Regions from separate parts of the Homo sapiens genome. Here all the other regions are linked to region 1. Evidence: promoter capture Hi-C in human tissues and cell types (Jung and others, 2019). All regions are on one chromosome and are shown on one strand. The core of a region is centred on a gene start or on the middle of the fragment in contact, and the rest is flanking DNA. Distances in the headings are between cores, read along the strand shown. Region 1 holds the start of FLRT3 (fibronectin leucine rich transmembrane protein 3). Region 2 overlaps MACROD2 (mono-ADP ribosylhydrolase 2). Region 3 overlaps MACROD2 (mono-ADP ribosylhydrolase 2). Region 4 overlaps MACROD2 (mono-ADP ribosylhydrolase 2). Region 5 overlaps MACROD2 (mono-ADP ribosylhydrolase 2). Region 6 overlaps MACROD2 (mono-ADP ribosylhydrolase 2). Region 7 overlaps MACROD2 (mono-ADP ribosylhydrolase 2).

Evidence for each region. Contacts are between HindIII fragments. The study calls those that stand out against the background at their distance.
Region 2: a fragment that was not itself captured here is called in contact with the fragment with the promoter of FLRT3 in region 1 in 1 of the 25 tissues and cell types used here (dorsolateral prefrontal cortex).
Region 3: a fragment that was not itself captured here is called in contact with the fragment with the promoter of FLRT3 in region 1 in 1 of the 25 tissues and cell types used here (lymphoblastoid cells).
Region 4: a contact is called between a fragment that was not itself captured here and the fragment with the promoter of FLRT3 in region 1, in 1 of the 25 tissues and cell types used here (dorsolateral prefrontal cortex).
Region 5: a fragment that was not itself captured here is called in contact with the fragment with the promoter of FLRT3 in region 1 in 2 of the 25 tissues and cell types used here (dorsolateral prefrontal cortex and mesenchymal stem cells).
Region 6: a fragment that was not itself captured here is called in contact with the fragment with the promoter of FLRT3 in region 1 in 3 of the 25 tissues and cell types used here (lymphoblastoid cells, mesenchymal stem cells and mesendoderm cells).
Region 7: a contact is called between a fragment that was not itself captured here and the fragment with the promoter of FLRT3 in region 1, in 1 of the 25 tissues and cell types used here (bladder).

What each region holds. Positions count from the first base shown.
Region 1 is chr20:14,335,049-14,339,461 of GRCh38, reverse strand. FLRT3 (fibronectin leucine rich transmembrane protein 3) reads left to right here and starts at 1,850. Exons shown (of 3, transcript NM_198391.3): 1 at 1,850-2,058. All of the region lies in intron 3 of MACROD2 (mono-ADP ribosylhydrolase 2), which reads right to left. The HindIII fragment of the contact is 3,050 bases long and covers 1-2,778 here.
Region 2 is chr20:15,327,578-15,331,990 of GRCh38, reverse strand. All of the region lies in intron 6 of MACROD2 (mono-ADP ribosylhydrolase 2), which reads right to left. Among named protein-coding and RNA genes, the nearest start is that of MACROD2-AS1, 400 kb to the right of the region's middle. The HindIII fragment of the contact is 4,395 bases long and covers 299-4,413 here.
Region 3 is chr20:15,300,927-15,305,339 of GRCh38, reverse strand. All of the region lies in intron 6 of MACROD2 (mono-ADP ribosylhydrolase 2), which reads right to left. Among named protein-coding and RNA genes, the nearest start is that of MACROD2-AS1, 370 kb to the right of the region's middle. The HindIII fragment of the contact is 4,210 bases long and covers 1-3,899 here.
Region 4 is chr20:15,172,086-15,176,498 of GRCh38, reverse strand. All of the region lies in intron 5 of MACROD2 (mono-ADP ribosylhydrolase 2), which reads right to left. Among named protein-coding and RNA genes, the nearest start is that of MACROD2-AS1, 240 kb to the right of the region's middle. The HindIII fragment of the contact is 6,985 bases long and covers 1-4,413 here.
Region 5 is chr20:15,095,891-15,100,303 of GRCh38, reverse strand. The region is part of intron 5 of MACROD2 (mono-ADP ribosylhydrolase 2); the gene reads right to left. Among named protein-coding and RNA genes, the nearest start is that of MACROD2-AS1, 170 kb to the right of the region's middle. The HindIII fragment of the contact is 7,566 bases long and covers 1-4,413 here.
Region 6 is chr20:15,040,971-15,045,383 of GRCh38, reverse strand. All of the region lies in intron 5 of MACROD2 (mono-ADP ribosylhydrolase 2), which reads right to left. Among named protein-coding and RNA genes, the nearest start is that of MACROD2-AS1, 110 kb to the right of the region's middle. The HindIII fragment of the contact is 3,002 bases long and covers 901-3,902 here.
Region 7 is chr20:15,007,751-15,012,163 of GRCh38, reverse strand. All of the region lies in intron 5 of MACROD2 (mono-ADP ribosylhydrolase 2), which reads right to left. Among named protein-coding and RNA genes, the nearest start is that of MACROD2-AS1, 80 kb to the right of the region's middle. The HindIII fragment of the contact is 4,174 bases long and covers 169-4,342 here.

The DNA.
Region 1 (4,413 bases), core at 601-3,100:
ATCTGAAAATGGCTTCTAGAAATAATTATTTAATAAAATAATTTAATCCATGTCTTTGTTTCATAGTAACAGAAAAATATCCACCTCCCTTTCCTCCCAAAATTCAGCTGCTGCATATCAGTTTAATTGTACTACCTAGCAGTTCAAAGAAATTGGCTTTTCAATGGACATTAGAATCTAAAACTCCTAGATTTAATGGGTCTGTCCTCTGAGGCCCACAAAAGTGCAATCATAGAACAATAGGGTCAATACATTTCTTATCAAGGGTTCACCTACTTTGATATCACCCATTCTTGGAAGGGAACTCAGGTCAAACTGTTATCAAACAAATATATAAATAGATAAACTAAATGAAGCTAATGAAGAGACCACAATCAAATAGTCCTGGGAAAGACTATTAGCTGGCCTTCTTCAGAAATAAACATGCAGGGAAAAATTGAGAAAGGACAAAGGAGAAGGTCATGCACCTCTAAGAATAGAGCAAATAAAGATATTAGTTTAAGACAACGGTCCTCCAGGTAAATATAAAAGCTAAGTTCTTACCACCAACATGAACAAGTGAAATACACTTATTTGATGGAAAACTTACGGGCACAAAGCAATTGTTGACCAAATAGCAGAAACCAGTCTACAAAAATCATAATTAAAAATACAAGTATAATTCTGTTAATTAGGCATAGAAATTTATAATCTCCACGTCTTACAATTGTCCAGTGTTTATTCATGTACCTAAATTAAACTAAAATAATTTCAATCCAGGCAAACCACCCTGAAAGATTTTTTTCTTAAGATGTTTATATCTAAACCCATGCTCAGATCAGCAAAAACATTTAGAAAGGAAAATATTCTATTAAATTTTTTAAAAACATTTTATTGGGGGATCGTTAAATATAAATAATCCATTTTAAATAATATAAACACGTAGCAGAAGTACATAAAACATACTTTCATTTTCTAAAACATAGAGAACAGTAACTTCTTCGCCTCCAAAAGAACAGACCATTTAATACCATTTAAAAAAATCTTTTGGCATTCCTATTGCCCTTCCCATAACTAAATGAATCAGTGACACGTGTATATATATACATATATTGGAGATGGAGTTTCGTTCTTGTTGCCCAGGCTGGAGTGCAATGGTGCAATCTTGGCTCACTGCAACCTCTGCCTCCCGGGTTCAAGTGATTCTCCTGCCTCAGCCTCCCAAACAGCTGGGATTACGGGCGCCCAGCTAATTTTTTCTACATGTTGGTCAGGCTGGTCTCGAACTCCTGACCTCAGGTGATCCTCCCACCTCGGCCTCCCAAAGTGCCGGAATTAGAGGCGTGAGCCACCACACCCAGCCCTGATGTATATATTTGAATCTGCTGTTTATTCATATGTTGAATAAACATTCACAGTTGGGATTACTGGCATACATCTTCCACAATTATAACATTATTTTAGCTAGTGAATAATAAAACTAATTTGATTTTGGTTAACTTCTTTTCAATACAGATGGTTTAAAAATAAGACAAAGCCTGTCTTTTTCTATTGTGATCTTAAAAATATCTTTCTAACATGCTTTTTAAAAAAAATACATAAGTATGCTACCACTGCCTTGTAGTAAACTTTAGAAAATGTTGAGATTCCAAAGGGCTGCCTACAAACCAAATGGCATCCTAGCTTTGGCAGGCTGATGCTTCATTTTGGCTGCTCTCGCCCCCTCTAGCGTTTGCAAAGCTCATCTGTCTGATTATCCAGTTACCTCACTGAACAAGATCTTGGCTAAGTCCTGCCCATCTATGACATCACCCCCTTCTTCAGCCACTGCGAGGTGAAGCTTTAAACTTCAGACTTGGAGGTGGGCTGTGTGCAGTAAACTGGAATGCTCTCCCTCGCTCACTCCTCAGTGTAGGAGTGATCTGAAGCAGGACAAGCTCAGCCTGCAGCTGCCGTGGGCTTTGTGTGGACTGGACGCAGAGCTTGGGAGACGGGGGAGGGCTATTACTCCAATTCACTGTCAATGGAATTACAGCTATAGCGGCAGTGTATATAGGATTGCTTTTTCTCGTCTTCCTGGTAAGTGTTTTCCATGTTTTTTCTTATGATTGTCCCAGAAAGTTTGCTTGGTTTTACTCTCTAGAAAGAAACGACTTGATACTATGAGAAATCCAAATAGGAACGTTTGCTCTGTCACCACAACAAGCAATATATGTGCGTGCAAGCCAGCAATGAAAAATTTCACTATCATGGCTGAATGTAAGAAGTTTCTTAGAACCTTCTTTCATTTATAAAAGATAGTAAGTGGCTATTTTCTGTCTTGAGTAATTGCTATGTGAAAAGAGCCTTATGGAAAACAGCAAGTTGGAAAGTTCAATGTTAAATATTAAAGAATACAAGGAGATTCTTCACAGATAGGAAAGCAACTTGGTGTGTACTGTACGTGTGGGATGATCACCAATTGCTGTTTTTACAACTGTGAAAGAAAATCAATAATCCCTCAGCCCATGAGTACGCAGTACATGAAAAGCATACATCTTGCTCACAGCTAGCCGAGCTACTCCTGGAGACTTATGTGCCTCTGTAAAGGATTAACAGCTACACCTAGATTTTAAAGCTTGCACTGCTATCGTGCCTGAGCTGCTTCAAGCATTTCAGGCTTGCAAATCTCAACTAGTAAATTGAACTCAGAGGAGGGGGAGACACTCTTCCAAACCATATTCCCTCTTCAATAGAACACCAAAATCCATTGCTTAGGCAAGTGAAGTATGTGACTAGCATAGTAAATGGCTAAGTCTACTCAGAAAAACTAACAAAGCTCACCCTGGAAGCTATGCCTGATGTATGCAGTGAGTTTGGGGTAGCAGGAAAGAAAAATAAATGAGTAGAGCCCTTATCAAGTGGGTTTTGCAGAGGATCCATTCTTTGCAACTTATAATAGGAAAATCTTATATTGGAAGAAATGCATTTATACTACAAAGCTTGAAAAAGTAGTTAAATGTATCTTCTCAAAAAATTTTGTTCACTGAATTAGGTCTGAAACAAAATGGTTGCATATAGGTAAAGAGTGCAACAGGCCCATCCATGTCTTCTCAACATCTGGGGGGTTTGTTTTTATTATTTTATTTAGAATTTAAAAGAAAAAAAATTGATTTTTTTTTCAATTTTTAGTCCAAAATCTCTAATGGTTTTAATAATAAGGCTATTTTAAACATTCTTAATAAATCTGTCTATTAATAAATCTGTCTAAAATGCTCATCTATGTTATTTTATTATCCAGAAACAACATAAATAAAGCCACTAGAAAAGTCCTTCAGCTGTAGCAATGCCTTTCATTTATCTCTGACTGCATAAAAATATCCTGACCAGCCTAAACATAAAGAATAAATTTGCTTATATTCAGGGAGAATCACTTATACCTGACCCAAAGTGACAGATGACTAATATTCATCTCTTCCGAAATGAGTAAAGAAAAATTAATCCTTTAAAAGTGCCACAATCAATAATATCAACATTACCAACTACTACAAATATTAATGATAATATGCCAGGTTTTACCATGGGAAAATTAAATCAGAGATATGCCCCTTAGTTTGGACACATATATATACACACAGACAAACGCACATCTATTTATTACCCTGAAATAAAAACAGAGTTACAAAAACGCATAGATTTACTAAGAAAACTAAAATTTGATTTTTTGAAGAGCACAACCAAAACACATCAAGTCCAAGGATCAGCAAAATATTAGTGAATGAATAAACATAATGAATTCATTAATATTGCGGTTCTGTAAAACTGTCTACCAGTTACTAATTGGGTTTTTCATTTCGCTGCACCCCACCCTTTAAAATCAATTATGACTGGGTTCAAAATGCACAATTAAACACTTCCCAAACATAACGTTTGTGAGATATATAATTGGATAGCAAATAAAGTTTTTACAAAAAGAAGAAAAACAGTAAGAAAATCTGTCATAACTAAATGTGGCAGCAAAATAGAAGGTATGTTTCTTTTGCTTTCAAGTGTTAATTAAGGAGCCTACAATTCTATCAAAACTTTTTCAGAGCTAAATGAAGCAGTGTGAAATAAATTTGGTTGAAATCTTGTGGCTGTCAGACTTTGTTAGCAAGCTATTAATTATCTTTACCCCAGTTTCTTCTCTAGACTATATTGCCCAATCAAATAGAAACTCCAATTATGCTCAGCATCTCCTGCCTAGGGACACAAGACCCTAATGAACACTCAGTCTCTCTAGATGAAAAATACAATAATCAGCTTTAAACATGCAAGTGCACTGCAGAGAGATTTTTCTGTGCTTTTCTTGGCCACACACCCTAAGGCTTCCTCCTTTTTCTGGATTATTTTGAACAGTTTTAAGCCCTACAAAAATCAGTGCAGGGAATTGGCCTTGTCTTAATAATATATTAA
Region 2 (4,413 bases), core at 1,247-3,746, 990 kb before region 1:
CCCTCTGTGAGCTGGGGAGATACACTTTCAGGTCGATATATACTATTTTCTTTTTAACTACTATTGCAGGAATAACACATTTTAAAAAATTATGTATAGAGTGAAGAGCAGAGGAAGAGTTGCTTTGTTTTGCCATCTGAAAATTACCCTAGAGAAGTTTTATGTGTGTGTGCATGTGTGTGTATGTTTGCATATATGCATACATGTATGGATATGTATTTGCAATCTGATACTCTCAGAAAGTACAAGAAAAGGTATTCATAAAGCAAGTTCTTGAAAATGACATGAGAAGAGAAGTTTTGCAAGAGAAGAGAAGAAAGTCTGGTTGGGAAGATGGTCCCATTTGATACTATTTTGAGCAACTGACCAAATAAAGTTTTATATGGTTTAGAGCTTATGTTCTGAGGACTGAGCATAAATTGTCTGAAGCTCAGTTATTTATTTTCTTTTCTTTTTTAATTTTTAAGATAAAATTTCCAAGGCATCTCTTTGAAGTTAACTAATTCTTTTAAATTAATACATTTTCACACATAGTATCTTCTAGAAAAAAAATTGATGTGCATTATAAATGCATATACTGATTTATGAAAGAATCACATCAACTTTAGTTGGCATGTGGTTCATTAATAGTTCAACCAAGTAGACCTCACCAGGTTCAAAATAACAGAAGTTTAAAAATTAAAGATAAAATCTATAACGAACAAATATTACTATGGGTAAAAAGAATTCTTTATATTACAAATCCAATTAATTTTTTAACAAGTCGATTTTATCAGTTATTTATATGAGCTTCTGTAAAATAATGAAAATACACTTGGAAAGTTGTAGAAGAGTAAATCAAATGCATCCCCTGTTCCAAACTTATGAACACATTCGCATGTGTTACTGCATCTGGCTTAGACAATTAAATATTAACAACCTTGTCTAGTTTTTCATATTAAGAAGATGTCACGATTTTCTCTTTTCATAAGGCATCAAAGCTGAAGTATTTTTGCCTCCGTTTTCAAAGAAAAAAATAACGACAGCAGTGCACGTAGAGGCTTTTATGCAAGCCACAAGTAAGAGATAGCCAGGGGCAGAAGACACGTGGGCCCATCTGAGAAATTACTTCAGGGCAGTAAGAAGCTTGCTGAGAACAGAATTTTACTCTTGGATTCTAAACTTGAGATGCCTTCTGAGCTTATAAAACCTAGCGATTCCACAATATTATAGAGAATGACTTAACAGCCCAGTTTGAATTTTGTCACTTTAATCCATTAGTCAGAAGTGCAAAGGAAGTCTTCCATTCTACCTGTGATATTGACTACCCCACCCCAAACAGGTGGCAGTTTCCTGAATTAGCTTTGGCACATTTTTTTTTCTTGCTGTGATCATCTAACATCAGTTTGGGTTACTAGAAATAGAACTTGAAATAGGAAGCAGTCCTACATTTTTTGTTGCTCTGGAAATGGTCTGCTTATAATCTTCCATCAGCCCTCCTCTACATGCCCAACCACTAATCTACACCTTGATTGGGGCTCAGTTCTCCTTCTGATAGGGAGAGGCCCTTCTGCATTTTCCATCCGTTTTCATGGACGGATGCTCTGAAGGCAGGGCTGCCTGCTGAGCCTGGAGTCTACCAAAGTCTGTCACTTCTGAATACTCAACACCAAGCAGTGCTTGCCAAATTTAGAGCCCTGCCTGACAATCACATGGAGGGCTTGTTAAAACACGTTGTAGGGGAGGAAAAGATGTCTTTTCCTGGCCCATTGCTCGGTTCATGGTGGAGGCTCCATACAAAGAAGATATTAAATAAATGCAGATTTATTTAATATAAGTTTTACATGACATAGGAGACTTCATGAGAAAATGAAGACCCAAAGAAACAGATTAGCTTGTGTACTTTTATGCTTAGGTTTGAAGAGTGGACAGTCCCGGAGAAGTATGACTGGACAAAGGAGGTGATAAACTCGGGGAAACTTAGCAAGGCCTGTTTGCTCAGATTCTTCTATGTCCCGGTGTCTTCAGAGATAAGGATGTTTCTTCTGGGTATAGCGAAGGCACCTCTCAAATAAGGGTCTTATGATTTTACAAGGGAGAGGAAAAAGTAAGAGTGACCCTCCTCTGTGTCTGCTGTTTTCTCAAATGCCAAAGGTGCAGCATTTTGGGGTAGCACGCCTGAGCCCCACCAATAGATTGCCATCAGCGTTTCTGTTTCAGTAGGTCGGGGATAGAATCCTAAAATTATCTGCATTACTAACAAGTTTAAGCCCCCTTTGAGAACCACTAGCATAGAAGCTAGACTCTCAAGGAGAAAGATGTGTATTTAAACACACATCTGAAAAATTTGTGAATTCACTTCAAGATTTTGTTTTAAAATATTGTATTTTCATTTTTTGATATTACTTTTATTTTTATGTACTTTATTTTTTCTGTGTGAAGAATGGGGTCTTGCTATGTTGCCCAGGCTGGTCCTGAGCTCCTGGGTTCAAACAGTCCTCTCACCTCTGCCTTCCTAAGTGCTGGGATTACAGACATGAGCCACTGCACCTGACTGGTATTGTTTTTAAAGGATATGATCATTTCTTTAAAGCTGAACTACCTGGGAAAGTATAACCTACCCAAGTGCCAGATGAGCAATGTATTCATGTAGACTGAGATCTCCAGATTCCAAACGTCACCCTAAATCACCTACAGATACACCACTCTCACCCTGAACAAGTCCAAAGGGCCTCTATCATACACTCTGAACTTGACCTTGGGATTGTCTCTAAGCTTTTTCATTATGGTATCTTCTGGAGAAAACTTCATAAAATAATTTGAAAATGGTGGATGGAAGAAGGGTAAATACAGAGGAACATAAAGAAGAATATTTTACACAATCGAATAGACTCTGCTAACATCTGCTGCATTTCCTTTTAGATTTTTTCTGTATGTTTTGTTTCCTACTTTTATTTGCATTATTTCATAAGAATTTTCCAATAATTAACATTGTTTTCAATGGTGTATAGTGTTTTACCTTATAAATACACCATAGTATTTTAACCATTTCTTCATCGCTGTATATTTAGATCATTTCTAATTTATCACTATTTTATATATACATATATACGCACACTATTATATACTATTATACTTTGGTAAATATCTTTTGGCATTCTTTTCTGAATTTTAGATAATTTTCTTTAAGGAAATTTCTAAGAGTGTAATTGTTATGTCAAAGAAAAAGAACATCTTTAAGGGTTTCGATACATTCAGTAAAACTGCCATAAAATAATAAGTGGCATCTAAGGAATTCAATTGCATATAATGTGGTGTGTTAATGTAAGATTAAGAAAATGATCAGGGCAAGTCCACTGATATGGCCAGCAGGGAGACCCCAGGTTTAGCTGTGCAATGCAATTAATTTCTGTCCAGGTTGTGGTTTGACACCAGGTCATGTTTGGTGACTCTGATTTAAATATTTATGGGGACAATTCTAGGTCTGTGTCTTAATGAGAACTCCAGACAAGTAGCAATGATGTCAAAAATCTCTCTATGTCTATTCTCATTTAACTGCCAGAAGGATTCATTTGAAAACATAAATCAGAGTGTTTTTCTCCTCTGCTGAAAATGCTAAAACTGCTTTGTTTCACTCAGAGTAAAAGTCAAGGTCATTGCATGGACTTACATGATCAGATGTGGTATTGCACCTCGGCACTCATCCCCTCCTCTCTCCCTCTGGCCACAGTGTCCAGCCAGACTGGCCTCCTTCCTGAGTCTTTGTTATTACTGTTCTGACTTCCTGGAATGCTCTTGCCACAGGTATCTGCTTGTCAAATTCCCTAACTGCTCTCAAAAATTTATCTAACTATTACCTTCCTAATGAGGCCTGTCCTAACCAACCACCCCATTAAATACTGTGCAGTGACATCCCCACCTTGGACCTTGGCCCCAATTATTTGACCCTTCTGATCCTTCTCATCTTCATTTTATAAAAATATATATTCTACTTATCAATTTTAACATACTATATAATTTAGTTATTTGTTAAGTTTACTGCTTATTTTCTGTAAACTCCACAAGGATAGTGATAATTCTGTTTCATTAACTGATATGTGTCAAGTACCTAGACCAGTCCCTGATACATAGTAGAAGCAAAAATCTATTTTAATGAACTTTAGCTATCTCAGGTTGAGAGTAAGGGCTGGATAGAATATATAACCCAATCATCCATCACATGATAGTGATGGGGTTCAGGACACACTACCCCAAAATATGGCATGCTGGTGTATGAGAAAACAGCAGAAGTAGGGGGCAGTGATATAGTTTGGCTATGTCCCCACCCAAATTTCATCTTGAATTGTAGTTCCCATAACCCCCATGTGTTGTGGGAGGTAATTTAATCATGGGGGCAGTTACCCCCATGCTGTTCTCATGATAGTGAGTGAGTTC
Region 3 (4,413 bases), core at 545-3,044, 970 kb before region 1:
ATTTTGGAAAAAGAGGACAGTGTAAGTGAAACAATGTAAATATGTTCAATAGGTGCGCTGTTTCATGGAGAAAATATCTTAAACATGAGATCCATGGGAAAAAAAAAACAAATAAAAGGAACTCTTGATAAACTAAAGTTGTGTAATTATAAAGTATGAACAGATGAGAACACGAGGCCCAAGGATCCATTGGCCAGCCCAGGGTCACACATGGAGTTAGTGCTGTGATTACAGACTCAGATGCCCATAGGTGTCACGTAGGTAATATTCATGGGTATGAGATGTAGGTGGGGGCTATAGCAAGGATGAGAGACTGTGCCAACCCAAGGAAGGCTACAGTTGCTCATCTCCATTGTTAGAAATAAAGCTCAGAGTTGTAAGCAAACGAGCACTCAGACAAAGGATTTTTCAGCAAAGCAAATTTACTTCTGTGGAGAGGGGTGCCTCCCGTATGGCCAGTTGCCATGAGGGCACACAGACCAAAGGAGAGTGGAAGTTTTTATTCCTGATGCAAATCCTGCCCCTGTGTCCTTTCCCCATTGGCTGGGATCAGACCTCACAATCTAAGCTAGACCCGATTGGCTAAATATTTAAACTTTTTTTTTTAGATAAGGCAGGCACGTAAGGGAGAGAGGGGAGAGCGGGAAGGGGTCGTCTGCAGTGAGCTAGAGAGCCAGTCCTTTTCCAAATAAGGAAAGGAATATGAGCTGGTGCTGATAACGCCACTGGTGCTGTGGCATGCCTGGGCATGTAGTAAAGGCAGAAAGAAGGAAAGAAGAAGAAAGAGATGGGGAGGGGTACTGGGAATTAAAGAACAAAAGGTTGATCAGGCTGTTTGAAGAGAAACCTTGTCATACCTCACATCCATCCATATACCGTCCAGGAATGCCAATCCAGTCTTGCTGATGTTCCTTATTTCAAGAGAAGCCAGATGCTTATATAAAACATCCTGATTGGTAAATGTTGACCAACTTATAAAACATGTGTTCACTTACTACTGTATGGGAAGCAAATAAAAGACAACTATGGGATGGACCAGTCCCATGGCCACCATTGCTACCAGTCCCATGGTCCCATTGCTACCTCTGAGAATCTAAGACAACTCGCTCCTTTCTTTCACCAGATTCAATTTTCCCTAATCTCCAACCCCAGTCATGCATTTATTCCAAAATTAAAATAAATAAATAAAGGAGCACTTAAAAGTTACTAGATAAGAAATAGATTGGGAAACACAGAAAAGAAAGAAAATATTATAAGGAACAAAAAGTAAATTCTGGCCTTCAAGAAGCTTGTGGTGAGGAAAGGCCAAGAAGAATTGTGAAAATGACCTACTATAATAATAAATATTACAGAATAATTAAATTGGGGGATACTATAGGAAACTGCTAGAATACTTGATTCATTCTAGGTGAGTAAACGTGGAAGATCTTAACAGAGTGAGAGGCTCTGAAAATAAATAAAATTCCAACAGATGGAGAAGGAAGAGGAATTGTAGGCTGTTAGGCCAGAAGAGCAAAAAACACTTGTGAGTGATCAGAACTGGCGTGTTGGTAGAAACTAAAGAGACTGGGGGCATGAAAAAAATACGGTGCATAAAGGAATTGGGGCAGTGTTCTCCAAGGCCAGTGAGAATGTTACTCTGTAATAGAAGAAACTGATAAATGGTTCTGAGTGAGTGACATGATTCTGTTATTGTTTTAGAAGATTTTCCCTGGAATGTAACAAATAGATTGAAAAAGTGAGACGCTGGCAGAGGAAAAACTGGTTAGTTAGCTATTTTGATTGTTGTTGATGGAGTGAACTAGAGTAAAAACAATGAAAGAGAGGATGGCTATAAGAGCCATTGTAAAGGGGATTTATGGAGCTTTTCTACTGACATGAACGTCTAGGGCAAGGCGGCATGATGACTTTATGATCTCAAGCCCATAGGTCTTGGAGAAAAGGGTGCCTTTAGGAATACAGGAGCACAGATGGGAATGTTGTGTTCCTGTGAGGCAGAGTTTGCTGCTGGGGCAGGGAGTAGATGGTAAGATAAATCTGTGGGGTCCAGCAAGGTATTGAAACCGTCAATTCTGCTGTTAAAAGACAAGTCAAGATTAGAGGTTCAAATTGGTCTTTTAACAGAATAGAGACTGTAAAATTGAAATGTTCAGAAAGAAAGAATGCAAGATGTCAAAGAGAAAAATTAGTTTGCAGAATTTTGGAAAATGCTTATAGATACATGTTTAAAGGTATGAAGATGAAGATTAACTAAATAAGGAAAAAGGAATTTAAAAGAATTAACAGCAGCTACTATTTACCAAGCATGTCACTTGTGCCAGGCTTTGGGCAAAGCCTTCACATAAATATTTTATTTAATCTTCATAATAACTTTGTAAAGGGACTGAAGCTTAGGGAGGTTAAGTAACTTGAATAAGGATATAAGTAGCAGGTTCACAGAACACAACATCCAAATATGGCTAATAAACGTTTGTAAAGATGCTCAATTTCTATAGTAGTTGAGGAAATGCACCAGGTTTGTAAAAAATTAAACAGGACTATAATGCTTTGAGGAAGAGCTACTCATACACTGCCGGTGGAATGTGAAATGGTACAGTTTTTTTAGAAGGCCATCTGGCAACATCTATTAAAATTAAATATACCCACTAAATGTAAATTAAATATACATGTGTCCTTTGATCCAGCCATCCCCCAACTGGGGATTTATCCCATAAGATGAAATCACCAACCCAGAGTAGAAAATGTCTGAAGCAAATGGAATATCCATCAACAGAGGAATGGTTGAATAATTTGTGATACATCCATAATATTTAAGAATGAGTGAGTTCTACACCAACTCTTTTGGAAGGAGTTCCACAATGAACTGTTAAGTGAGTAAGGCAAACAGCAGACAAGAGTATAAAATATGATCCCGTTTCTATAGAGCAAAATAAAAGATACACATCTGTATGTGTGTATGTGTGTGTGTGTGTGTGTGTATTTTATCTGCCCAGGGTCACATTACTAGCAGTAGTTAGGATTTATGTTCAGATCTGTCTGATTCCTAAGCTCATGCATTTGATCACCAGAAGAGAAAGAAATGAAATATAGTCAACGATGTCAAAGGAATGACCTTCAGAAAGACATTAAATGGAGCGGGAGCTAAGAAACGGCTTTGGATTTGGCAATGAGGACGCCACATGTTCCCTTTGGGAGACAGGTTTCAATTGAGCCCTTTGGGAGGGGCCAGATGCTGGGAGCCAAAGAGCAAGGCTGTGGTGAGGAAGTAGTGCCAGTGAGCACCGACCACGTTTCAGAGATCTGCCAACAAGCAGATTGTCAGTTTGGCTGGAGAAAGAGGAGCTAGTATTGAGTTTTCTTGTGTTTGTTACATTTGTGTGTTTTATACTGGTGGGTTGTTTGGGATTTTCTGTTCTCCTGTCTTGTTGAGTTTAAGACATCCTTTGCACATCTGAAAGTTAGAGGAAAAATGAGACGCGAGAGAATGACTAAGTTCCAGAACTGATGGAAGGGGAAAGCTAAATAACTGCCTATTGCCCTTTCTCTCCTGGCGCCTCTCTAGGTAGTATCTCTGAAAGACAAATCACTTCTTTAAGAGATATAATTTTAGGCAGGTGCATTGGCTCATGCCTGTGATCCCAACACTTTCAGAGGCTGAGGCAGGAGGATTGCTTGAGGCCAGATGTTCAAGAACAGCCTGGGCACTTCAATACTCTTGTCTCTACAAAAAAAAAAAAAAAAAAAAAAAGGCCACCTACCATCTTACTAACTTCCACCCATTGATAAGTAAGATTCTTAAATACCTTCAGTGACCTGTCTGAAATTCAAGAAACCAAAGGAAATCTCAACTCTCAACTCTCTGAGTAAAAGAAGACACTAGGAAGCTAACATCATTTGGGAACAAGGCAAGTTGGTGACCATGAGCCCAGCTGCTCTTTGAGCTGCTTTCTCTGATTCTCTGAACCCATCAACCAGGCCCCGTGCTGGCTCACTCTTCTGTCTCATTCCTCCTCTGAGGCCTTCTGACCAGTCCTCCTGGGCAGGCCTGCCAGGTAACTGCTCTCTGGTCCCAATCAACAAAAAGGGATGAGGTAAAAGACTTATATCCTCTTCCTACATTTCCACTGTGCCCCCTAGAATAGCAACAGCTGCCAGGAAACTACATGCCCACCCTCCCAGTGGAAGGAGTGACTCAGTGGGCCAGTAAGGCAGGCGAATGGTCACTGACTTCTACAGCTAGCTGTCACCTTGCTCGCTGTCCTTCCTCTGAAGTTGTTCTTAAGCAGAACACGTTCTCCTCTCTGCCAGTGGTGCCATGTGGGGGCAAGCTCACCAAGGTGCAGGCAGGACCTCCCCACTTCATAGCAGAGGCCTCTGTTCTCTCCCCTCTCAAGAAACTAACTAGCTGAGACG
Region 4 (4,413 bases), core at 798-3,297, 840 kb before region 1:
AGGTCTGTTCAAGTCTGGCTGAGTCTGGGGTTTTTATGGGCTCATAAGGGAGGAAGTGCATGCTGATTAGTCCATAGGTGGCCATGGGCAGGGCCAGAAAAAGCACCATAAGTTCTCACTCTGGGCTGCAGACTTCATCAGGAACTGGCAGCCCAGCCCACAGGCTTCAGGCTTGAAGGTGGGATTTCACCAGGGACCTGCCCCTTTTTGTCCAGGAGCCTGTCTGCCTTCTGCTGCCATCAACATGCCATCCACAACGCCCAGGCTGTTCCTGCCAAGGGGTACCTGCAGGCCCACACTAAGCTGCCCTCAGCCCCTCCTTTGCTTCCCTCCCATGCTCCTGGGTTCCCAAAGTCTAGAGGGGGCCAAGGCAGCAGGGGGCTGGCGTGTCAGCACCTCTGAGAATACACATACCTGGCCACATTGCAACAGCACCCAGCCTCAGCCACAACTTTGCTCTGCAGCAGAGAGGGTACTGGGAGCAGGGAGAGGCCAGGGGGCAGAAGCAGGCACTTCTAAGCCTGTTGGGGCAGGAGGGCTTCCCAGGCCTCCGAGAGTGCAGAGATTCCCAGGTCTGGAGCCACAGTCGGGCAGCTGCTGTTGCACCCAGGAACACTGGGCTCCTGCCCCATCAACTTGGTAGGGGCTGGGGCTCCCGCCTGTTCCTGGCCCCCACTGGCTCTATGGAGCACACAGCCATGGTTGCACCTAGCCATTGCAGCCAGTGTCTTTGCAGTGGCTCCTCCAGATGGGCCGCCACTGCCATCAGTATAAAAAACTAAACATGAAAACTCCTATCATAAATTATTGTAATGTCTCTTTGCTTGAATTCTCTCTCTGAAATTTCTATTTCATCCCCCAAATGGCAGGCACAAAGTCATCTTATATTTCATGAATTTTCCAATAGCTAAGTCAATATGACTAAGTCTACCATTAGCATTCAGCAACTAAACATTTTAAGTAGTGTAATTATACAAGAAACCTGGGTGGTAAAATGACTATTCATGGTTTCTATATTCATTGTAAAAGTTTGCCATGCATATCTTTTTTTAAATTTTATTTTTATTATTATTATACTTTAAGTTTTAGGGTGCATGTGCACAATGTGCAGGTTAGTTACATATGTATACATGTGCCATGCTGGTGTGCTGCACCCATTAACTCATCATTTAGCATTAGGTATATCTCCTAAAGCTATCCCTCCCCCCTCCCCCCACCCCACAACAGTCCCCAGAGTGTGATGTTCCCCTTCTTGTATCCATGTGTTCTCATTGTTCAATTCCCACCTATGAGTGACAATATGCGGTGTTTGGTTTTTTGTTCTTGCGATAGTTTACTGAGAATGATGATTTCCAATTTCATCCGTGTTCCTACAAAGGACATGAACTCATCATTTTTTATGGCTGCATAGTATTCCATGGTGTATATGTGCCACATTTTCTTAATCCAGCAATGGCAACAAAAGCCAAAATTGACAAATGGGATCTAATTAAACTAAAGAGCTTCTGCACAGCAAAAGAAACTACCATCAGAGTAAACAGGCAACCTACAAAATGGGAGAAAATTTTCACAACCTACTCATCTGACAAAGGGCTAATATCCAGAATCTACAATGAACTCAAACAAATTTACAAGAAAAAAACAAACAACCCCATCAAAAAGTGGGCAAAGCACATGAACAGACACTTCTCAAAAGAAGACATTTATGCAGCCAAAAAAACACATGAAAAAATGCTCACCATCACTGGCTATCAGAGAAATGCAAATCAAAACCACAGTGAGATACCATCTCACACCAGTTAGAATGGTGATCATTAAAAAGTCAGGACACAACAGGTGCTGGAGAGGATGTGGAGAAATAGGAACACTTTTACACTGTTGGTGGGACTGTAAACTAGTTCAACCATTGTGGAAGTCAGTGTGGCGATTCCTCAGGGATCTAGAACTAGAAATACCATTTGACCCAGCCATCCCATTACTGGGCATATACCCAAAGGACTATAAATCATGCTGCTATAAAGACACATGCACACATATGTTTATTGCGGCACTATTCACAATAGCAAAGACTTGGAACCAACCCAAATGTCCAACAATGATAGACTGGATTAAGAAAATGTGGCCATGCAAATCTTTTATGCTCATATATTTTACTTAAAAAATATGTGCTGGATTATTATCTTAATCAATTTAAAATTCTTCTCCTAAATAATAAAGGCCACAAGTAACATTTTGTTACAAATAGAAGAAAGCAGAACAGATATGAAGAAACCATACATTTAAAGATTTTATATTAAGACGAGACATTGCACTTGAGTGTAAAAATAATAAAAATTTGTCATTTATATAATAATCTACATAGTCTAAAATTACCATTTAAATGCACAATAAGCATTAGGAAAATCATGATTTAAAAGTCTTGGGTGTATATGTTTGGGCTTTAGCAATGAAGTAAGTTTTCAGTGATAAATTATGCTGCACTCAGACTTATAAAAGAAACTTCTATTATTGATTAGTAGCTTAGAGAATACAGACACTTTTTTAACCAATGAACAAAACATTTTATCTCGAAGTCTATGCTTCAGGAGACATGTAGGTAAGAAAGATAAAGTCAACAATGCAACATTTCATTGTATACCATTAACTTATACTTTGAGTTCATGAGGGGTAAAAATGTAGTAATACTCAGATTACAGTAGGACTCCTTATGAGTGCTTCAATTAAAAATATGCAACCGTGATATCACCATGCTAAAAATTGGTTCTGCATGACTGAATCTGAGGCCCACTGAAATGACTGTATTTATACCCAATTATCAAGCTATAACCTTTGACTTCCCTTTAAAACTGTCTGCCAAAAAAAAATTGAATTAAAACACAGCTTGAAATTCAGCCAGCTTCCAGAATTCACCTTAATGGAATGGATTCTCTGTGCTACATGGGACAAGAGTGATGTGATGAAGGTTTTTGCATTGACATTTAGGGATCACAGCCTCTTTCTCTACAATAAGACATTCCTTCGATTTGCCAAAGTGAGTAAGGAAATTGCCTACCCCCAATTAGGAGAAGATAAAAAAAATCCTATCACTTTGATCTGATAATGAATATGCTCCATTGGGCTGAAATAGAGAATCTTTTTGGACAGCTTCTCTTTAACTACATAGGTCTGTTTAGCAAACATACAGTGAGTGAGTTCTCACTTTCTCATCCAAGCAAATATCAAAGGAAGCATTTTCAGGAAATCATAATCCAAACCTGCAACTATTTAGAAACAATGTGCAAAATTAATTATATATTAGATAAAGTTGAATAGTAATGGATAATTTCTTTGAGTCTAGGGTTAAATTAATTTTCATAGATTTATTATTTAAAATTTGCAAAATATTTGAGTCCCTGAAAAAGATAAAAAAAGTTTAACACACAGACCCACACAAACACACACGCACACAGGCACACACACAGTTTATATATGTTCACGTTATATTTTTTAATTAATATTCTTTTAAGTTTCTGTTCATTTTGAATGGTTTTTATGTCACTTGAAATATGGGGGCAAACTTATTCATAACATGCATGAAAGCTTTCAAGCATTTTCTCTTACAGATTAGTAAAATAGTAAATTTTCAGCAAGCCACATACACAGTAATGCTTCCCCAATTAATTGTATTTTCATTTTAGTATGGCTCTACTGGCAGGTTGCTAATAAATTGCTGATAATTATTAATCTGCACTTGACTAGTCAATGTTCAGATCTTTTTCAAGAGAGGCACTCCATAAAGATTTACAAGTTTTGCCAAGTGAGGGGCTCACGCCTCTAATGTAAGAACTTTGGAAGGCCAAGTCTAGAGGATGGCTTGAGCCTAGGACTTCAAGACCAGCCAGGGAAATATAGTGAGATCCCATCTCTACAAAATTAAAACAAAACAAAAGAAAAAAAAACAAAACAGTAGCCAAATATTGTGGCAGGCGCCAATAGTCCCAGCCACTCAGGAGGCTGAGGCAGGAGGATAGCTCGAGCCCAGGAGTTCAAGGCTGCAATGAGCTATGACTGCACAACTGGATGTTGAGACCCTCTCTCTAAAATAAAAAAGGAAAGAGAAGGAAAGAAATATTTACCAATTTTATAAAGGCAAGTGGAATTTCTCTTGGTAGATCTCAATATTCCTTCCCCAACTTGTTTTGTCCGGTCTCCAGATTTTTGGCCTTCTTTAACTGACTCCCACCAACCTCCATTTTTTTTTCCACTGGAGTCCCTGAGGCTACAAGATTTGCAGATTTTTCCTTTTTGCCTCTTCCTCCACTGTTGTACACATTTTGGGATCCCTGGTAACTATGACAGAATCTTAGAAGCTTCTCACTGTCTTATGAATGCTTCTCTGACTCCTATGATTGATCTCAAAAATCAAAATGGGAA
Region 5 (4,413 bases), core at 1,367-3,866, 760 kb before region 1:
TCAAAAATGCATTTAATACCTCAACAAATCTATCATAAAGAAAAAAAATCAGGTGAACCATCATCAGTTGGGAACTATCTATAGTCTGCTACAGATCCCAGCATTTTGGGAGGCCAAGGCAGGAGGATTGCTTGAATCCAGGAGTTCAAGACCAACCTGGGCAACATGGCGAGACCCTGTCTCTATTTAAAAAAAGAAAGAGAGAAAGAAAAATAAATAAATATCCAAATGTCATCACTTGCAAGTTCTACCTGTCACAAAACACAAGAGCACAAACAGAATTCAGCCAAGTTCTTTGTAATTTTATAACAAGGGTTACTTTCCTCCCATTTCTTTTTTTTTCTTTTTCTTTTGAATTTTTTTTTTCAATCCTACCATCCCTCCTCCAGTTTCCAACAACATGTTTCTCATTTCCATCTGAGACCTCACCAGAATTGCCTTTACCATCCATATTTCTATCAACATTCTGTTAGTGATTATTTATGTATTCTGCAAAGAAGGAAGTTTTCTCTGTACCTCTCCTATCTTCTTTCTAATTTCTCACCACAGTAGGCTTTAACATTCAAGGCAAGCTCAGCTTTTTCTAGAATGGATCTCAAAACTTTTCCCGCCTGTGTCCATCACCCCTTCCAAAGTCACTTCCATATTTTTAGGTGTTTGTTTACAGCATCAGCCTACTTCTCAGTACCGATTATTGTCTCAGTCGGCTCAGGCTGCTATAACCAAACACCATAAACTGGGTAGCTCAACCAACAGACATTTATTTCTCACAGTCCTGGAGGCTGAGGGATCCAAGATCAAATTGCTGTCAGATTTGGTTCTTGGCAAGGACTGTCTTCCTGACTTATAGACAGTCAGCTTCTCACTGTGAACTCACATGGCCTCTCCTTGTTGCAGGTGTGTGGAGAGAGAGATTTTTTTCTTGTTTTACTCTTCTTATAAGGGCACTTCTTCTAAGGGCACTAATCCCATCATGGGGCCCCATCCTCACAACCTCAGCTAAACCTATTACCTCCCAAAGGCTCCAACTTGAAATACCACCACTTTAGTGGTTAGGGCTTCAATATATGAATGCTGAGGACACACGAATATTCATTCCATAGCAGTATATACCTTTGTTAACTAATATAACATTTTTTCCTCCAGTCAACAATGTTTGGGGCTTCTAAGCACTAAACTGAAATTTTCAATGTGTCCATGGATGTCCATGTTCCAGTTCAGACATGTATTACATGAACTTTGTGATTAAAAATCTGGTTAAAGTACAGGCAGGATATTCTGTGGTGGCCTCTCAGCCAAAACCATTAACTAATTCATAGGCTTACTGCTGGCAAACTTGTAAGTCTCTAAAATGAATCTCTGGCTAGTACCTACTCTGAATGTAACTAGTAGTGCAATTTTCTACGGAGAAAATTATCCTGAAGATGGCAGCTTTTCACTTCTGAGCTTTGGCTCATGCTGTTCCCTCTCTAGAACACTCTCTGATTTCCCCCCAAAGGGGAAACATCTACCTGCAGTTAGACCTTAGATCTCTATTTAGATATCACCACCTTAGGTGCTCCTCCTTCATGTTCCTGTGAGCCCTGTTCTACCACCATCATAACTTCTTTTATTTGACCATTGGCTTGGTTGTCTATCCTTCTAAAGTATAATCTTAGGATAGCAAGGACTAAATCTTATTCACCACTCTATTCACGGCACTAAGCATGATGCCTCGCATAGTGTTAGAGCTGGAGGAGTGAATAACTATGCAAGAAGGTGAGTCATGGCATAAATGTCCAACAAAGGCATTACGTGTGCCTGAAGTCAAGCATGGAGGACACTTCAGGCCTTTCAGAGAACTTAGCATCCCAGAGGGTCTGTCCTCCATATCAGAATGAAAATGTAGGCAGAGTAAGGGATACAGAAATAAAGGAACACTGTTATGAGGAGAGCAGCTACAGAGCCGCCACCCAAATTCAGGTGAGAAAGGTTGGAATCATCACAGAGCCCTATCCTTTCATGGCTTCCCTCAGGACTCACTGCATAATCTGTGAGACCTGCTATGAAATGAAAATGTGAGACCCTTTGTTCAAAAATTAATAATTTCAGAATGGTAGGAGCAGAGCATCAAATCAAGCATTTAATATTGGTCCCTTCTAAGCATGGGGCTCTGTGTGACTGCATGCATCTCGTGCCATGAAACCAGATCCAGGCCCCTCTAAACCTAGGTGCCAGGGGCATACTGGTTCTGCTGTAGAACAGTGTTTAAGTTTATTTGGCAGCTCTCTCTCAAGTGTGTTGAGGCCTTGAAATTCAAAATTTTAGAAAACAAATAACATTTGTGATAAGTAACATAAAGATTGTTATGAACTTGCCAAACACCAGCATCCAAAAGGTAACACTCAGGCTTTCATAAATTTCATAATTCATATTCTCCTGCAAAGACTTCTGGATACTGAAATACCCATTCCCAAGATTACCTTTTATTGATCTTCATTAGAAACCAGCTACGTGTTTGTCGATAGAAATGAAGCATAAACAGTTTTGGCCTTGCCCTAACTTTCCATGGCAGCTGACCATTCCACTGAAAATACTATCACTAAAGCATCTACTTGATCTTTCAACAAAGCATGGCCTTGCATATTTTTGTTGTACTTGTTCATTTTTTTCTCCCTGTTTTCCACAAAGGTACCAAGATCAACTCAATCCTATTTCTCCATTGAATTGTATTGTTCACTTATGACATTTTATTTGGACATTACTCTTACGGTACTTTACATTAATCTGCCCTAATAACTACTGAGGTATATTGAAAAATAATTGATTTTTCACATCTGAAAGACATCTGTTATGCTATATTAGTGGCAATAAAATAGAAGAAACACTCACAAAAGCAAAATTGAACTATACACCAAGATAAATGTTATATTTTGGCAATATTCTCACAAAATAGCTGACAGATGTTAGTAAAAGCATTACATTTTGTGCAAAGATACTCATCATTTCCTATTACTATACATACTCCATGACATACAGAAACAAATAGTACAATGCAAAATACCACACTTTGGGCAATGCCAAGGCCAAATTTTGCATATTGTTTTTCCATAATGATGCAAGTTTGGTCTACAGTCTCCAAGTCAAATATTGAGGTAATTTTTGGCATACAATTGAGTCTCGCAAAAGCAAATTAATACTTTTAAAAATTAGCACCGGGCACAGTGGTTCATGCCTGTAATCCAAGCACTTTGGGAGGCCGAGGCGGGCAGATCACCTGAGGTCAGGAGTTCGAGACGAGCCTGGCCAATGTGGTGAAACCCTGTCTTTACTAAAAATGCAAAAATTAACTGGGCGTGGTGGCGAGCACCTGTAATTCCCTCTACTTGGGAGGCTGAGGTAAGATAATTGCTTGAACCCAGGAGATGGAGGTTTCAGTGAGCCAAGATCACGCCACTGCACTCTAGCCTGGGCAACAGAGTGAGACTCCAACTCAAAAAAAAAAAAAAAAAAAAATTAGCATAGTGGCTCACGCCTATAATCCCAGCACTTTGGGAGGCCGAGGCAGGCGGATTACTTGACGTCAGGAGCTCCAGACCAGCCTGGTCAACATGGTGAAAGCTTGTTTCTACTAAAAATATAAAAATTAGCTGGGCACAGTGGTGCACATCTATAGTCTCAGCTACTCAGAAGGCTGAGACAGGAGAATTGCTTGAACCTGGCAGGCGGAGGCTGCACTGAGCCAAGATCACGCCACTGTACTCCAGCCTGGGCGACAGAGTGAGCAAGACTCTGTCTCAAAAAAAGGAACAAACAAAAAACATATATTATATATATTTATATATATAAATACGTATTTATATATATTTATATATATATTAGCATGGGATTTATGGCTAATATTTTAAAATAATTACAGACTCCCAAGAGAAAAAACATACATGAACAATAAATTCTTACTAGCCACTTACGAACTGCTTGCACCAAAGCCCATTCGGAAAAAGGGATGCAGCCACGTTCTGTGCTTCTTAATGTCTCCAGAATCCTAGAGTACCCTGCAGGGGACTGATGATTGCACCTTGAGTAGGAGTTGAGAGCTGGAAATCAAATCAAACTCTTTGGCCCCGTGGAGAAAGGGATCTACTAGCTGCTGCTACTGGCAAGCTCCATTATTCGTGGCCTAGTGTCTTTTCATTTCTCAGAACTTTAATTGTATCTACCTTCACGGTTCTACTACTGCACACCTGCATAAAGTCCAAATTGTCCACCTGGGGGGAAAAACACTCTTTTGTTAGCTAATCACAGACTCATTGATACATCAGCTGAGGATTTTAGTGATATTAGAAATTCTTTTAGTGAATCCCTTCTATATTCTCACAATTCTGATTGTTTTCTAAATCTATTTTAATCTCTCTTTTGCTTTCTCTTGCAGAC
Region 6 (4,413 bases), core at 1,152-3,651, 710 kb before region 1:
AGGGGAGAAAAACACAGACAAGGTCAGAACACTCTCACAGAGGTGGCAAAGGTGTCCCATTTTACTGGATGTTTGGGATTCCCAAGCTGACATTCTAACCTCAGACATTATTTAGAAGAGCATTAAAAATTTAGCTGCGTGAAGCTGTGTTTTCTGATTAGGGTCTTCTGCAGGGTGACGGCCATGATGAACTTGTTACTGACAATTCTTCCTCAGACAATTCATCCCCATTTCTTTTCTTTTCTTTTCTTTTTCTAGATCATCTTTAGTACTGTTAGGTTCTCTTAGAAACTGGTGCACTCAGGATTCCTTGTGTGTTAAAAGGTTGTGATGTAGGAGTTAAAAAGCTTCAATTCAGCCTCTTGTGTTTTGAACCACATATGACTGTTTTGTAGAAAACTCTTACATTGACATAAGGTTCAGATGCTGCATTTTAACATTGAATGTATTTTTAGACAAAACTTAAAATCTGTATAAATATTATTAAATATTTCTATGGATAAACAACTGCACATAACGTTTTATCTGTGAGAGTCCCAAGAGGAAATAAATGGCACTTTCAAACAGAGTAATTTGAGTGTTTAATAGAGACTATTTACAAAGATGTGGGAAGGCTGTAGCAACCCCCAGAGCTAGTGACATTCCCTGAAGTTAGCAAGCAGGCACTGTTAACATTTTCAAGCCAAAAGGCTTGAAAAGAAAGTGTAGTTCCCAGCACATGTAGACAATCACAAAAAGCAAACACCTCACCTTTACTCTCCTCTTTACCTTAGACTGCCTGGGAGAGCTGCCCATTGACCAAACCCAAAAAGAAGCCAGAAGGCAGAGAAGTCCATTGAGACAGTCCATACAGATCAGCTCTCCAGGCAGAGAGAATGGGAAAGATGGGAAGAGTGGGTCTGGAGGGCAAATGGGAGACACTCCGCACAGATGTACTCATTGACTCAGAGAAGGAGTGTGTTAAGGGAGAAAACAGGAATAATCTTGATTGTGCCATTTTGAATTTCAAAACTGATAGTGTGATATAACAAATATATATTCAGTCCCCAGTTCCTGGCACAGAGCTCCCTAAAACTCTTGTAAGCTCCTGAGTGATAGGAGTAAGAAGAACCTCTTTGGTTATTCATAATAAGGCTCTTTAACCACACCTGAGATTATGCTAATAGGATTACTCTTGATGGGCCCCTAAATAGCTTCAGGATGAGGTCTGGTTGCCAGAGGATCCGACCATGTGATGAGAGGGTTGGCACCTTTCAGCCCCACCTTCCAACCTCCATGGAGGGGAGATAGGCTGTAGATTGAATTCAATCACCAAAGGCCAATGACTTAATCAATCATGCCTATTTAATGACACCTCCATAAAAACCCTACACAATGGAGTGCAGAGAGTTTCAGGGGTGCTGAGCACATGCAGGTACAAGGAGTGTGGCGCTCCCAGAGAAGGTTTGGAAGCTTCATGCCTCTTTCTGCCCCATGCATCTCTTCTGTCTGGCCATTCTTGAATTGTGTCCTTTGTAATAAATTGGTCATATTAAGTAAAGTGTCTTCCTGAGTTCTGTGATCCATTCTAATAAAATATCAAACCCGAGGAGAGTGTCGTGGGAACCTCTGATCAGCTGGTTGGTCAGAAATACGGGAAGCCTGGATGTGTGACTGGCATCTGAAGTGGAGGCCATAATCAGGGGTACAGACAAAGTGTTAGAGAGAAGCACAGTGAATGAAAAGAGCTCCTCTCCACCATGCCCAGACTGCAAAAGCTTCTTTTTGACTGGGGGAAAGAGAAAAGGGAAGAGGCGATAAGTAAAGGAAGATCTGAAGGCCCAGGAGTACAGGGGCCCAAGACAATCTTTCAAAAGAAGCCACTCAGAGAGGGACAAACTCCAGAGAGAGAATGTGGGTGTGCAGCGTGGAGGCATCATGCAAAAAACTCAAGTGGGTGAAGGAAGCTAGGTGGAATCCAATGGACACTGGAGGGGCCTGTGTGGGCCTGGAGAGCCAATGCCCCATGCAAAGGCACAGCAATGCCCTATGCAAAGGCACAGCCCCAGCCAGCTGGCTGCTCCTATGCAAGAATGCAGGCACTGAGTTACAGTATTTCCCATTTTTCAAGAGAAATCTGAAAACTACATTATTCAAATAAAATTTCCAGATTCTTAAAACTTTGTGGGCTAAATAAAATGCGTCTGTGGAACAAATTCAGTCCACTGCCTGGTCATAGAAACATGGAGTCCTAGTGGCTTACTATGCCCTAAGCAAGCCACCAAAGCAGCAGGAGGTTTGCTAGACCTGAGAGGCCACATAGATAGGAATGAAGGACACAGCAAAGCAGACTTAGGTTCAAGGAACAGCTGGGTCCCTTTCACCCAGGCCTAGTTCCACACAAACTTCCAGGAATGTTGATACAACCCCAGGAAGGGAAAGAAACACCTAAACCATTGAGCTTAAAGTTCCGTGCCATGTCAGCAGAATCAGGACTCAAAAAGGAAACAGTGTTGTAGAAAAATAAAGTAGTCACTACTCATCTATATTCCCTCATTCCTTTCAGTAAGATTTGGCTCTAAATTTGCAAGATACAATCTAGGCTTCTTGCCTACCAGTTCCATGATCCCATTAAAGGGATGTAAGTAGAGTTCATCATTAAGATTTCCTGCTTCTGTTCTATGCAAACTATGGCACGCTGAGCTTCTGCTGATGGAATTTCAGGTGCTAAGACAGGGACCTTCAAGTTCATCCACAATCCTGAGGCAGAAATCTGTGGGTAAAAGATACCTATCCTGAGATGATTCTGGCTCTGTCCCGGCAGTGGCCATAATTCACTGTGGGCCCTAGAATGAGATGTTTCTTCCATGTTTCTTCCCTGCTTGGCCCCAATACTCTTGTCATAAACTATAAGGGGCGAGAGTCAGGCCTCAGCCAAACACACGTCCCATTCTGCTGTAGGATGCTATACTCCTACAGGTGGCCAGGTGAGGGCATACTGGAAATGATTGAGCATTACACAGATGAGAACATGTACCATTATTTTTATATTACTGTTTCTTCCACACAGATTCCACCTCCCTTTTGCACAATAAGATTAGACATTTTCCTGCCTTGTTTGGCTACTTTAGAAACTCTTAGGATTTATACCTTTTTTTTCCTGCATTTTCCCCTTTTCCAGTCATCAGCAAATTCTCTGGAAGGTCTGTTATGAAAATAACCTACAGAATTTCACTTTCTATTTGTCATAGGATAATTTATATCCCTAGGAAAGAGAGCTTGTTTTTTATTTTTTCTTTCACTAGTAAAGTCTGAGATAAGGAATCATGTGTTTATTTCTTATGACTTGGGGCTCCAAACTTCTTTGAAATCCTCTCGCTAATCTTCTTGTCCCTGAATGGCTTCAAGTTCTCCAGCTTCCTCCAATCCTGCTTGGCATGTATGACATGCCTCATCACCATATGTTTTTCCATCTTTTGATGACTTATTTCAGCCTATGGGCCTAAAAATCTCTATGTTAAATTCAAACATTCTGCATTATTGAACAATATAATGAAGCATTTCGATATTAAAACTCCAAGAAACAATGATGGAGAAATTAAGTACTCAATGGCAAGAAGGGTACAGTAACAAATCTGAAAAATATAAATTAAAAAATTCAGTTTGGGTGTGGTGGCTCACACCTGTAATCCCAGCACTTTGGGAGGCCGAGGCAGGAGGATCACTTGAGCCCAGGAGCTTGAGACCAGCCTGGGCAACACAGGGAGATCCCATCACTACAAAAAATGTTTAAAAATTTAGATGGGTGTGATGGGTGTGTTGGTACATGCCTGTGGTCTCAGCTACTCAGGAGACTGAGGTGGGAGGATAACTTGAGGCTTCAGTAAGCCATGATCATGCCACTGTACTTCATCCTGGGTGACAGAGTGAGACCCTGTCTCAAAAAAGTAAGAGAGAGAGAGAGAGAAATTAATTTAAAAAAATCAAAATCTAGAAGTAGTATTCTTCTATAAAATCTAGAAGTACATGACTTTCTAAAGTTGGATATATGGCCAGAAGTGGGCAATTGAAGTTTTGCTCAATATTGAGCAGGTGTTAATATTATGAAGAATATTACTCAGACCAAGAGATGTCCCCTTCCAATGACTGGGAACTGTATTACAAACAAAAATTTGTCACGCCCTTTCTAGATGTAGCATTATAGAATTAAAATAACTTTCCCATTTATTGGCTTTTTCTTCCACAAATGGAGATCAGAAACTAGCAGATTCAAATTTTCATAACTGCACAATTCATGGAAGTGAGTAAATACAGCTCAAATTTATAAAAACCAATCATCATGTCAAGAATCCATATAACAAGTCATACCAGTAAATTAGTTGAATTGCAAGTATTTCCACCAAAAAGTGAGTTCCAAAAGAATGAAAACATAAA
Region 7 (4,413 bases), core at 1,006-3,505, 670 kb before region 1:
TAAGAATTAATGACAAAGTATTTTGAAATTCAGTCAGGTTTTTGTGACCCTTTGGGGTTCATTTGGGTGACAAATAAGAAAAACCCATCAAACAGCCTTTAATAAAAGGAATTTACTATCACATATAACTGAAACATCCAGCAGTAGCATGGGCTACAGGGAACAACCAAAACACCCTATTTGTTTGCATCTCCCCTCTCTGACTTCTGCTGTATCTGCCTGATGCTGTTGTCCTCTGGTCATAACATGAGTGCCAAGAGCACACGGCGCTCAATGCATCTTCATTCATAACAAGAGGTAGAGGCCAGAGTTGGAAAGGCCACAAAAAGCCCTGAGGCTCCCTTGCTAAAAACACATGACCAACCCTGAGCTAAACACCATGACCCAAGGGATAGGAAATAGTGATTAGCTTAAACACATTAGGGCCTCATCCTGCAGCAAGGACAGTTAATTCAACACAAACCACATGGCTGGATGGAGAGAGAGGGGAAGGGCTAAGTCATGAGAGAGTGGAGACACCAGGTACCGACTCGATGAGTACAATATCTGTCCCCTCCTGGAAGACCACAGCTGCACATTTTCCAAATGCTTTGATGAGACCATGGCCAGGAAAAGTGGCAAAAAGAACTTGGGGGAACAAAGAGTACTATGTCATTTCCCATCACGGAGCCTCACAGGTATGAGCATATCATACACACTGAATGGATAATAAGGACAGGGTTTAGCTATTAATATAGGAAAGTTATTATTATCTAAAAATACCAATTAAAAAGGCAAAGATAACATTTAGTAAAAGAGATCCTCCTTCTCTCACTCTCTCTCTCTCTGTATTTCTTACCCCACCCCGATTCCTCTCTCTTTCCTTCTCTCTTTCCTGCTCTTCCTCCCACCACAGAGGAAATCCATTGTACAACTTCACTGAATGGCAAAACTACTGACCCTAAGTGACAAACTGTCTCAGATCAGAAAGTGGTGTCAACTCAAAGGTGGCAGAAGAGTCAGGAGGTCTATGGACAAGCCACACATTCTTCTCTGTCACTCCTCATGAGAAAGTAGAGGTGAAAGGGCTTGGCTTGAACATTAATCCATTTGAATCTGTCTGCCACACAAGGAACAACTTGTCACTAGCATCAGGCAGCATCACTCCTTTCCAGCTTTATATTTGGTAGTTGCAGTCCTCAGCATGCTTTGAGGATGTCACTCCAAAATAAGTCAAGTAAAACCAGGTTCACTGAGTGATTTTGGAGGAAAAACATGGGAGAAACACATCTAAAATAGGCATTTCCAACTCATAGTGCTCTTAGGTGTGAACTTTTTCTAAGAGCTCCTGATACAAGCAAGACATTGGCAGATATAGCACTAGATTCACTGACGCTCATTTCAAAACAAAACAAAACAAACAACAGTAAGTTAATTTACTTGCTGGTTTATTGTTATTATTATATTTTTGTTGTCTTTGTGTTGCTGAGCTACAAATATAAAAAACGGTGGGTATGTGAACTAATGGATATTTCATGGATTAATAGGAACAAACATAGTTTTAAGAAATGCCCAGAAAATAAATAGAAGATTCATTCTGTCCTCAAATCTTGTGTTGACACAAGTAGACTTAAGGCTAATCACTGTTTAAGTTATTTGTTCTCATCTCGCTGCATTTATCTATAACCATAAAATTAAATGACCTGAACTGTACATTTGTTTTAGGAGTGCCTACCACGGCTATAGTGATCTTGGGACTATAATTCCTTCTTCAAGTAAAGAATAACATGAAGCTATTTAGGTGCTTTCTACTGCTCTGTGCCTCTGCTATAGCAGAAGAGATAAAAGTGGCTTAGCAGGCATTTTAAGGAATATCTTCAAATAATGTGTAACTACCTAAGTGGCGGCATGGTGCATTACACTTTTGGCTGGTGCTGATTTTCTAAAATGAGGTTCTGCATAAGGTAGGGAAGATAGGGTAATGCTATTTATTTAGTCCGACAAATAATTCAAAGCTCACATTTCAAAAAACTCTTTTTCTTCTTTTTACCTTTGCTTTTGCCATTGCTGCCTATCATCATGGCATACCCCTCAACACTGCTCAAATTCAAGTGGTAAATTTCTGTAGGGCAACATGTTGTTTTTGGAGTTATAAATGTTTGAGCTCTCCAATCTTGGAGCAGAAGCATGAAGTGAGCTTTTTTTATGAAGCTGAGGTTAAGAAAACAAAGGAAACATAATCTTGCCAATAACACAAGAACTAGACACTTTATATATCTGGGAAAGAAGAGAGAATAAAAGCACTTGCTTCTATGTTGAAATTTAGTTGGAAGGCAGGAGATAAATTTTCAGAAAACAATCCATAACTAAGCCGAAACAATGTATTCAGTGGTAAAAAAAAAAAAAAAAAAATAGGGAGGTGGGGAGAGACCTCTGTGTTTCAAAGACTGAAAAAAATTATGGAAAAAAATTAGCTGGGAAGGAGTTTTCTTTAGTTTATCTTCTATTTCAAAAGCTAAATTTCTAAAAATCAGGGGGAAAAGTGTAGCTTAATTACAACAAAAACCCAAGAGGGATAATTAGTCTCATGATATAGTTTTGCTCAGATAAACAAAACATGCTCTTTATAGAAATTTTGGGTAATAAAGAATAATTCTTATAATCAGATCTCTGTCCTCTGAGTTCAGAAGATCAAGTGTGAGAAGATACACACCTGGAGTGATGATGAGTTTGCTTCCCCTATCTCCTCAACAGTGTGAAAAGTTGATTAGAGGGGCCAGAAGGCACCCAAGAAGCTTCCATAATCCCACAGCAATCTTTAGGAGGGCTTTATAAATCTTATATAATGTCATGATGACAGAGTTTGCCAAGAATCCTATATGTTTTAGGCTTCTTTGGGGAGGAATCAACTTAAGGGGCATATTTTAAAACTACTCTTGGTGGAGTGTTTGGAGACCCAAGATCAGTGTGACCTAGGCTGTCCCCAGAGACCTGGGTGGACACCCATCATAAATAGACCAGGATGCAATAATGGGGTACATTTGCTGGCTTTTTCCTGTAGTACCTCCTTTTGTCTGAAGTTGTGCAACCAGCATTTGGAGCAGGATCCAACTGCCTCATATATAATCATTGTTTAATCAAAGTCCACCATGCTGAACCTCACAGGTTCTCCTGTTTCTCTGAGTAAAGACAGCCAATTACATATAACTGCTACATTTTCTGGCAGAATAAGGGTTTTACTCAAGCTTCCCAACTCCTCCTCCACTAAACCCACAGAAAAGGAAAGAGAAAAGGAAAAAAATCCATCCAACCATGATGCAAAGTAATAGGTACGTCTTTTAAAAGAAGTACCTTTTTAAAAGTAATAGGTACTTCTTTAATAAGGTGATAATAAACATAGTTTATTTTAAGCAATAAATGAACAGATAAAGTGGCTCCAGTCATGCCATACCATCCACTTTAAGTACATGCATTTTACTACGTAAACTACATGTCTGTGGTTTGTGTTGATTCTCCCTCTTATGTAAGGGGGGAACAGTCCTTCTCAGCGCCAAAGAGCCTTTCATACTTAAATTATTTCTGCTTAGTAATACAGTTATCTGCGTGTGCATCCATCTTTCTCAGTAGACTTTAAGTTTCTCAAGAACCTGCACCATGATCAGGTCATCTTTGCTTTCCTCTTCCTTATTCTCCCCGATGAACATCCCACACAAAGTGTTGCACACAGTCTGTGCTCAAAACATACCTGCTGAAATGCCTTATCTGCAACACTCTATGTTACAAAAATAATAATAAAAATAAATACAAGGTATGTGGAAGTCCTAACCTTCAGTAGCTCAGAATGTGACCTTATTTGGAGACAGCATCTATAAGACAGAGTCTCCCTATGTTGCCTAAGCTGGTCCCAAACTCCTGGGTTCCAGCAATCCTCCTGCCTTGGCCTCCTAAAGTGCTGGGATTACAGATGTGAGCCACTAAGCCTGCCCATTTTAATAATTCTATAAGATTTTAAATAATCTTATAATTGGTCAGTAAAATAGGCTACATATCAAAAGTTTTATTTTAATAAAGAACTAATAGCACGTTAATTCACCAACTTATTTTCATAGAAAGAAAGCCAGTTCTTTTCTAGGGGAATTTGATAGGGAGTTTGATACTCAGCTTCAATCCCACACCTCTTCTACTGTGCTTTCCTGTACTACAGAGGATGAACAGCAAAACCCTCCAGATCCTACATTTCTTTGGAGTTAGGATTCTGAATGCAAATCAGGGTTCCCCTGGCCTGCACAAGGAAGATGAATGGAGGACAGAAACTCTTGGCTGTTTTGGATGGGCAAGCCTGGCCCCAGAGTTATTGGGGTTTCCTGAAGCAATGTCCCTGAGAGTGTTAAAAGGCACATGTGGTGTTGGAGGTAGACGCCCCCTGATTTTCCA